Regions from separate parts of the Homo sapiens genome. Here regions 1 and 3 are each linked to region 2. Evidence: promoter capture Hi-C in 16 types of primary human blood cells and fetal thymus (Javierre and others, 2016). All regions are on one chromosome and are shown on one strand. The core of a region is centred on a gene start or on the middle of the fragment in contact, and the rest is flanking DNA. Distances in the headings are between cores, read along the strand shown.

What was found. Contacts are between HindIII fragments. The CHiCAGO score rates a contact against its expected background, and 5 or more counts as called.
Region 1: a fragment that was not itself captured here is called in contact with the fragment with the promoter of KCNK16 in region 2 in 2 of 17 cell types (monocytes and neutrophils); the score reaches 8.3 in monocytes.
Region 3: a contact is called between a fragment that was not itself captured here and the fragment with the promoter of KCNK16 in region 2, in 5 of 17 cell types (monocytes, neutrophils, total B cells and 2 more). The highest score is 9.4, in monocytes.

What each region holds. Positions count from the first base shown.
Region 1 is chr6:39,150,129-39,153,365 of GRCh38, reverse strand. No RefSeq gene overlaps it. Among named protein-coding and RNA genes, the nearest start is that of SAYSD1, 37 kb to the right of the region's middle. The HindIII fragment of the contact is 6,218 bases long and covers 1-3,237 here.
Region 2 is chr6:39,320,794-39,323,960 of GRCh38, reverse strand. KCNK16 (potassium two pore domain channel subfamily K member 16) reads left to right here and starts at 1,259. Exons shown (of 5, transcript NM_001135106.2): 1 at 1,259-1,633. The coding sequence starts at 1,421. All of the region lies in intron 1 of LOC105375047 (a long non-coding RNA gene), which reads right to left. The HindIII fragment of the contact is 9,631 bases long and covers 1-3,167 here.
Region 3 is chr6:39,171,026-39,174,397 of GRCh38, reverse strand. No RefSeq gene overlaps it. Among named protein-coding and RNA genes, the nearest start is that of KCNK5, 57 kb to the left of the region's middle. The HindIII fragment of the contact is 1,297 bases long and covers 1,217-2,513 here.

The DNA.
Region 1 (3,237 bases), core at 254-2,753, 170 kb after region 2:
CAGGGGACTAAAGCAGGAGGATTGCTTGAGCCCAGGAATTTGAGGCTGCAGTGAGCTATGATTGCACCTCTGCATTCCAGCCTGGGGAACAGCAAGACTCTGTCTCTAAATACATAAGTAAAACTGCCATTAGATAATGTAAAGATGAACGGTATAATTACAATTTTTAATTTTTCTTTACTGAGATTTACCTTAAGTGGCAAGTAAAAAATACCATGCCAAGTTGACAGAAAGCACCAAACCTCAGAAGAAAGGAAAGAGCTATATATTTTAGTACCTTCAGGGGCATTTTTTCCTGCTCTTTTTTTTTTTTTTGAGACACAGTCTCACTTTGTCTCCCAGGCTGGACTGCAGTGGAACAATCTTGGCTCACTGCAGCCTTGACCTCCCAGGTTCAAGTGATCCTCCTGCCTCAGTCCCCTAGGTAGCTGGGACTACAAGTGTGTGCCACCATGCCCAGCTAATTTTTTTTTTTTTTTTTTTGTATTTTAGGTAGTGGCTGGGTTTTTCCATGTTGCCCAGGCTTTGCTTTTCGATCAAGAGACACACATTTTTATTTTGTACTGGACCCAGCAACTCATGTAGCAGACCCTGGGGAGAGGACACCTCCAGTTCTGGCAGGTGGGCCAAAAGATCAGCTTTGGCACAGGAGAGCTCTCTATAATAGGATTTGGTAATCGTGTCTTCCTGGAGTTATAGCCACTGGTGTTTGAAGCATTGGTGTCTTGGTTTTCCTTGTATTAATTTCTGTCCGGGTCTGGCAGTTTGCCTCTTCTTTCCAACTAAAGCTCTTTCTGCAGCACCAGCGGTATGCCTGCTGTCACGGACTTTCCGACCATTAAGAGCAATCTAGGTCTTATTAGATCTCATCCCCCACCCACCCTGTAATTCATCCTCCAGTTCTTAAATTACTTGCTGATGAGCTTTCACTTCCTCTGCTGCTGAGAGCTCTTGCTCTCCCTCTTCCTATCCATTCTCCTGCGGAGCCATGCCTCTCTGCCTGTCCAGGGCATTTAGAACTTGTGCTTCAGCTACAAGGCTGTGCATCCATTTTTCAGGTGAGCTTTGATGAAATGCTGTGTCCAAGGTCCATGTCCAACTTCTCTGTGCTTCCTGCTTTTGCCTAGCTGACACGTCATCACACAGTCGGAATTGGAAATGGACTCCACTGTTTCCAACTGATCTTAATTTTGTTGAAGCGGTAGCTACTGTCTGTCTTTTCTGACTTTTTGTCTTCTCACCCTGATCATCAGGTGTTTCAGCAGCTCAGTGTAATTATTCAAAATGGGAGTTTCATCCTCTTTGTGCAATAGAGCTGCTTCTAGGACTTTCTGAGATTTCAAATACAATGTAATTCATTTCCTGAGCTCAGTATTTCATTCATTACAACCTTGTCCTTCCCAAATAATAATTGTTCCATGCCGACTTAAGTCTGGAATTTTTTCTTCTTGAACTTAGTAGTGTCAAGACATTGTCTCTTCACTTTGCTTAGATAATCTTTATTAGGGAGCTCCCCTGTCTGGAAGTTTTAAAATAAAATTACCTGTAAAAATGTGTAACCTGGCCGGACACGGTGGCTCACACCTGTTATCTCAACACTTTGGGAGTCTGAGGTGGGCGGATCATGAGGTCAGGAATTTGAGACCAGCCTGACCAACATGGTGAAACCCCATCTCTACTAAAAATACAAAAATCAGCCAGGCTTGGTGGCAGGTGCCTGTAATCCCAGCTACTCAGGAGGCTGAAGCAGGAGAATTGCTTGAACCTGGGAGGCAGAGAGCAGTGAGCCCAGATCATGCCATTGCACTCCAGCCTGGGTGACAGAGCGAAACTCCATCTCAAAAGAAAAACAGAAAAAGGATGTGTAACCTTTCCATAGAGTTTCAGCTTTCCAGTCTTCTTGATATTCTGTTCCCCAAACTGTAAGCACATCTTTCTGTGCGTTTGAATTGTTTCTTCGAGTCAACTGATTGTATCTTTAAGCCCAGATACTTCCTCAGGAAGATGTTTATTTTAGGTCTTGATTTCTCTAAAAGATATCTTTGCTGCTTTGATATTCTGTTCTGAATTGAATAACTTTTTATTTTGGAAACTCACACCTACAGAAAAAGTTGAAAGATTAGTATAATGAATACCCCATATACTCCTCACCAATATTCACTCATTATTTCCATTTCACTGTATTTTATTTTTCCTTAGGTATGACATACACTTTTTTGCTGACAAATTTGGAAGCAAAGCGTACATTTTGTGGAACTCCACCCCTATATATTTCAACATAAATCTTCTATAAATATAAGGATGCTTTCCTACACAACCATAATACCATGCTCATACCTCAGAAAATTAACAATAATTCCAAAATCTAAAATACAAGCCCTATTAAAATGTTCTTATTTGTCCCCAAAATTAATCTGATAACTTTTAAATGATTTATTTTAATTCTGCCAAGATCATTTTAAATTTCTGTGCAATCCATTGTTCAATCACTTGACATTTCCACTCATTATAGAAAAAGTCTTCCCCTGAAGAAAATGGCAAGTGTCCCACTCCCAAGAAGGGTAAACATTCCATATTCCCAGGGCATCTTATAAAAATCTAGCCCGACCTTACCTTCTCAGGCAGACTGGACAGCAGTATCGTGGTATATCAATTTAGAAATTCTTAATCTCCACTGCTGTCAGACGTGGTTGCTTTTCTGCATTTATTTCTTGGCTGTATTCTGAAACACTGGTGTTTCCTAGCTCCTGTACCATTAAGTTACCAGACTCTTTCAAAACATTTAAATCCTCTTCAGGCATTTCCATTCTGACAATGGACAGTCAATTTCTTTACTGGGCAATGTTCCTTGTGTAATTCGTTATTATCTTCTGTTTTGAGCATCATTAGTGTTGAAGTTGGTCCTCTAATAGTTTCTCCAGGAAGGGTTTATAAGAACAATCTTTCCTAATTTCTTGCATACACAAAAATGTTTGATTTTACATTTTTAAAAAATAAAAAGCCAGGTGTAAAAATTTTAGATCACACTTGCTTTCTTTGGGGAGCTTTTAGGATTAGTTCCACTGTCTTCTGGGGTTGCATGCTAATTTGGAGAAGCCTAAAGTTAACAAATCACTTCTCTTAGCCTTTTTGCCTGGCTGACCCAAAGACTCTTTATCTCTGAAGTACAGTAATTTTGCTAGGATATGTCTCAGTGATGAGGACTTTTGTTCATTTCTTCTGGAATCTGTTGTTCCT
Region 2 (3,167 bases), core at 10-2,509:
GGTTCTGCTAGCTGGGGAGGAGGGAAAGGATACTCAGCAGGCAACTCACAGTGTCTGCAGCCACAGCTCATTAAAGGAAACAGCAGAAAACACAGCAGAGATATTGGAATCCTCGCCCTGGGCTAGTGAGAATATAAAATGGTTCAGCCACTTTGGAAAATAGCCTGGCAGTTCCTCAAAAAGTTCAATACAGAGTGGCCAGATAGTCCAGAAATTCTACTCCTAGGTATGTACCTGTGAGTAATGCAAACACATGTCCACAAAAAAAACTCATACACAGAGGTTCATAGCTGCTTTGTTCTTAATAGAAGGAAACAGGGACAACCCAAATGTCCATCAACTAGAAATCAAATGGATAAACAAATGTGTTATAGCCACACAATGAAATATTACTCAGCCAGAAAGAAGGAAGAAGTACTGTTACATGTTGCAACAGGGCTGGATCTTGAAGACCCTGTGAATATACTAAAACCCACTGAATTGCACACTTTAAATGTGTGGACGATACAGCATGTGAATTATATCTGTATAAAGCTGTTATACATGTACATAAACAAGCATGTGTACACACACACACACAGGCAAAGAGAAAGGAAAGCACTCTCAATTCCATCCACTCAGAGACAGCCCCTCTTACCATCCCAGGATCAGGATATACTTATAGTTTCTTTTTAATTCACACATATATTTCACCGACATATCCTCTGAAGGTAACCCACTAGAGGGCTTCATGCAAGACAAATTAGCAAGAGTTATAAAACCAATGAATCCAACTTATCAGCAGAATCAACCCTGATACTCTTACCATCAGGCTGAGTGAGACAATCACCTGTCTATTTACTTTGCCCTGATTTGTCACGCAGTTTACTCATCCTGAGGTTCCCCCAATAGGCAGTTCAATTATCCTGCCCCATTTTGTAGCCAAGGCAACTGAGTAGAAGGTTTATTCATACCCATTCTGACCTCTTCCCAGCTCCTAAGCTGGGGTCTTACAGCCTTCAAGGGTGAAGACGCTGGGGGCGGCCGAGAGAGCCCACTGGGGCCTGGACAGAGTGAGCACACCTATCCGATTTAGCCCAGAAACATCTATCCAACTTGGAGACAGAGAGAGAGACATGAAGCACTCAGGAGAACCTGGTAGGTCTCTTTGAAGGGTCCCTGACACTGACTTGCTGCTGTCCATGGAAACAAAGGCCGGGTGGGGGTGGCCGGCCTGTTTGCACTCACAGCATAGCACTTAGTGCAGCCAAGCTGAGCCGCACTGTTCAAACAGTCTCCCCAGCCTCCAGACACCTGTGCCGAGGAGGAGGGCAGGGCAGGCGGCAGCCTGGGCACAGGCCCCTAGGTGCTTACTCCTCACCTGTTTCCCACCTCTCCCCCATAGCCAGCCCCACGGCCCTGGCAGGGTCCTGGCCACAGCATGCCCAGTGCTGGGCTCTGCAGCTGCTGGGGTGGCCGGGTGCTGCCCCTGCTGCTGGCCTATGTCTGCTACCTGCTGCTCGGTGCCACTATCTTCCAGCTGCTAGAGAGGCAGGCGGAGGCTCAGTCCAGGGACCAGTTTCAGTTGGAGAAGCTGCGCTTCCTGGAGAACTACACCTGCCTGGACCAGTGGGCCATGGAGCAGTTTGTGCAGGTGAAGGGGAGCGATGTGGGATTGGGATGGAGAGGCTTGGGAAGGTTGGTGGAATGGGGTTCCTGTGGCAGATCCACAGTCCTCACCCAGGAGCTGATGCCCCATTTGGAAGAAGAGTGTGGTGGGAACAGAGAGCCTGGTGAGATCTAATCCTGGATTCTGGCCCCAGGTCTACAACTGGATTGATGTGTGACCTTGAACAGGTCACTTAACCTCTCTGGACCCAAACAGCCTCATCTATAAGGCAACAAGAATAACCATATCGGTACTGCAGACATTTGACAGCAGATTAAAAGCACTCTCTAAGCTGTCACTTGCTGGATGAATGGGAACTATATGTCAGCGTTATCAACGCTATCCAAATTTCCTCCTCCCACACTTTCATACTTCCCCTTCCCCAACTCCAGGGCTGCAGCTCCTTCTGCCCTCTCCCAGCTCATATCCCTGGGCAGACGGCTGCGGGTGGGAGACACAGATAAATGCCAGGAGCAGCCACCACCAAGCTGTCCTTTCCTGGCCTGTTTGCACCTGGAGTTGGGTTTGGTGGGCAATGGCCAAGGTGACTGAGCTTGCCAGCACTGCACCCAAATGGGGCTCTCTCTTGGTAACAGAGTGGGTCACCCCCTGCCTGGGTCCTTTCTGGTTTCCTCTTTCCCAGAAACAAGACAAAACCAGGTGTTGTGGAGGGAGGTGAATGCATCTGAAATAGGCACTGGAGCGAGTGACAACATCCCCTGCAAAGGAACAGACCAAGTGCCAAATCACCTTGATAACTGGCATTTACTGAGCATTCACAATGTGCCTAAAACAGTGGGAAGCAGGGTGGTCATGACCAGCTTAATCCAATCATGATCCACTCATCACCTGACACTGAGCGTGTTACAGGTGTTTTCTCATAATTACCTATTACAATCCCTATCTCCACTTTGTAGATGGGAACTGAGGTAGAATATGTTGACCAAGGCTGCACAGCTACTGGTAGAGACAGCATTCACTCCCAGGCCTCTGGCTCTGGAGCCCCGGGTCTTCACCACACAAATTAGCATAAGTGCTGGGGGCAGGATGCAACCTGAAGCAGCAGTTCTCAAAGTGTAGTCCCGGGACCAGAATCAGCATCACCTGGGAGCCTGTTAGAACTGGAGATGTCAAGCCCCACTCCGCACCTGCCGACTCAGGAACTCTAGGGATGGGTCCTGCAGGCTGTGTGTCAACAGGCTCTCCAGGTGATGTTGAGGACCCTGAAGACTGAGAACAGCTGGCCTAGAAGATGATGCGTGGGCTGGGTGGTCACAGACAACATTCTGTAGCTGTGAGAGACCAGGAAGTGAGGCCTCCAGCTTCAGGTTTTACTCTCTTCTCCCTGATGGATAAGGTTAGTCAAAGTTGGGGGACCATAGTACCACATCAGGGTTGAGAACAGTTCAGGGGCCTCCCAAAACCCTGGGAGTAAGGCAGAGGCCCTGGAGAAGCTGAAATCTCCTCCCTCAGCTCTGCATTGGAGGTGAGAGCCAAGCTGGAGGGCGTGGGAAGGGTT
Region 3 (3,372 bases), core at 616-3,115, 150 kb after region 2:
TCACTCTGAGTGCAGTGGCGCAATCTCAGCTCACTGCAACCTCCGCCTCCCAGGTTCAAACAATTCCTTGCCTCAGCCTCCCGCGTAGCTGGGATTACAGGCACAAGCCACCACACCCGGCTAATTTTTGTATTTTTAGTAGAGACGGGGTTTCACCATCTTGGCCAAGCTGGTCTGGAACTCCTAACCTCATGATCCACCCACCTCGGCCTCCCAAAGTGCTAGGATTACAGACGTGAGCCACCATGCCCAGCCTGTTTACTATTTATTAAGTGGAAGCGGATCATCATAAATGTGTTCATCCTGGTCATCTTCACAATGAGTAGGATGAGGAGGAGGAAGACATGGGGCTGGTCTTGCTGTCTCAGAGGTAGAAGAAGATCCGTGTATAAGTGGACCTGCACAGTTCAACCCGTCTTGTTCGAGGGTTGACTGTATGTGAACAGGGCTGGTGCCCAGTAAACTTGGTAGCCAGCCCACTTTTTCACTGAGAAACCTCTAAATGTCAGCATCTGTAGGTCCTTTCTCTTGGGTCAATTTCCCAGTAATTTGCTGAGTCCCTCAAATTTGCTCAGAGATATAAACCAGTTCCAATGTTCTGATGCTGAGTGGGGAAGGGCTTGGGGAAACTACTTTTGGTGTGCAGACTTGCACTTAATTTCTAGCCTCACCTGTGTTAACCTCTCTATAAGCCAGCCCATCTTCTGCTATAGTGGAGAAGGCTTTGCAAGAAGTAGGAGGGGATCTGGGGCTCTCACTGCTTCTTCACTCACTTCCAGCCAGTCCCTCTCAGCCCTCCACCCTGGCACCCGCTTCTGAGGTATCCAGTGTTTCCAAGCGCTGAGCCATTGGAGGCTCCCTAAGCTCGAAGCTCAAAGCAGCCTGCTTTTCATTGCCATCCTGACCATCCTCCCACCTCCAGGCCAGGCAGCTACGGTGCAGCTGCTTCCCGGGGGTGAGTAACTGTCCTTCCCCTTTTCAGTTTCCAGAATTTTGCTGACTACCCCACAACTTCACTTTTCTTGTCCTTGTGGGTTATGCCTTCTCAGTAACATCTGAGTGGGGTTTTAGGAGATAGCAGAGACCAAAAGCGGTCAGCCTCTATGCAATGGCCCAGTCACTGGTGAAAATTCTCTGTAGGTGAAAAAGAAACATTGAAGAGATCCCACATCCAAATTCTAACCCCATTAAGAGATCCAGAGACCTGGGAGAAGCTTGAGGAGTCTGGCCTGCCTGCTGATCCCGGCTAAGGAATGACCCTTAAAAGCTCTGCTATGTGGCCTGGCTGCTAGGGGATGGGAATCCAGGTTCTCAATTTTGACAACTCTAGAGTTCTGAGATGGCCCCTTTGCCCCAGGCCAGCTCCTACATTGCCCCATCACATCTCCAGACCTCAGAACAACCCCTGGGGTCTGATGACTTGCTTGACATCCCCCAACCCTTACCTCCAGCCCCTGCCTTCTAGGGCCTGGCCTTTCTAAACTTGCCTCTTTCTTTTATTTTCTCCTTTTATTTTCCTTTTGAATGTTATTTTTTCACTTTCAGTACCTATCCTTCCCCCTTTTTTCTCCCCCCACCTGTTTCTCCCCTTTCCTTTCCCCCATTCTCTCTCTTTCTTGCTCTCTCTCCCTCTCCCTCCATCCATCCATGCCTGACTTCTTCCTTTGGTACATCAGGACCTTTTCCAACAACACCAGTGGTTTTCAGTCAGGATTGATTCACCCACACTCCCAGGAGACGTTTGGCAACTTGTGGGAGGGAGTAGGGGTGCCACTGGCATCTCATGGGTCGAGCCCAGGGATGCTGCTCAACGTCCTACAATGCCCAGGTCGGCCCCCTGCAAACAAAGGGTTTTCCAGCCCCATATGTCAATAATGCTGAAGTTGGGAAACCCTGCTCTACCATAGCCCCTGCTTCACCCCATCCCTAACCCTTCTCAGATAAAACAAGCATGGAGAGCAGGGGCCCCAAAAGGCAGCCATTGCCAGCAAAGGCTGGGATGAGCTGCCCAGACAGCCCGCAGGGCCCAAGCCCCTGGAATCTGCTGGTGTTGGCTGTTTTGGCCTTCTCAGAGTCAGATAACCTGGTGGGAAAGAGCTCCTGAGCCATCCCAACTGCTGCTGCCAGCTGGTTACCTGACTATGGGGACCAGCCCTGGTGCTGGCTCAGGAACAGGTCATGAAAACACAGCCAGCCCACCACCCACTCCAGACTGGTCTCTTCCATGAAGGCAAGGGTGGCAGCAGTAGCCTCTGACAAGTGTGAGGCATGGAAACCTGCCTAATCTCGAGCCTGACTTACCAGCCTGCTGGGAACCCTCCCAGAACCCAGCGTGTGGTATGATGGGGCCTGCCTACCCTCCATGACTGCAACCCTACACTACCAAAGCCTCTGCAGGCTGAGTTGACTTCCTGAAGTTGGCAGGAATAGGGGTGGATTATGGAGCAAGATGGAGCCTGGCCCTGTTGAATTCAGTGAAGCAGGCTAGGGCAGCTCAAGGCAGAGAAGAAGCTTGGAGAGCCCTGGCTCCCAACTTCACCTTCAAACCCTGGGTCATCCCCTGTGGCAGAGACTACTTGTTGCCTCTTAATATTCATTCTCCTATTCTTACACAGTAATTGAATTTGTAGCTGGCTCCCTAGCTAAAGATTACATTTCTCAGACTCCCTTGCAGCTACATGTGGTCACATGACTGACTTATGTCCCAACGAGATATGAGCAGACATGGCGTGTGCAACCTCTGGATAGTGCCTTTAAAAGGAAGAGGAGTGCAAATGTGATGGCAGGAGCTGGAACAATCACTTTAGACCATATGAAACAGAAGCTATATGCTGAAGGTGGCCATGCAATAAGGCAGAAGGCACATGGCTTCCCCCACCATTGAGTTGCCATATTGTGGACCATCTACTCAGACGTTTACATGAGAGAGAAATCAAAGTGTTTCTTGTTTAAGTCTCTGTATTTGCAGTCTCTTTTTATAGCAGCCTATTATGTGTCCTAATAAAAATAGCTCCTTGATGAAGCCTTCTGTGACACCCTCCTAGTCTAGACGAAGTAGGTGTCACTTCTTGCACCCCTGACTGGATATTTTTCGGATGAGAAAACAATGACCCAAGGTCACATTTACAGTTAATTTATAATGGAGCTGAGGCTTGAAGCCAGGTTCAAAGCATTGGCCTGAATGAAGGCCAAGGTTCCTTCACTTTCTAATATCCTAAGGTTCTCCGTAACCTACTAATCAAAGGGTATGGCAGGCACAGAGACCTTACTGGAGGCACTCATCTCATCAGATGCAAGGGTCTTCCCCACTCTCTGCTCCCTGGCCACACTGACCTTTCAGTTCTAAAAACCAGCCATACACTGTTTCGCCTC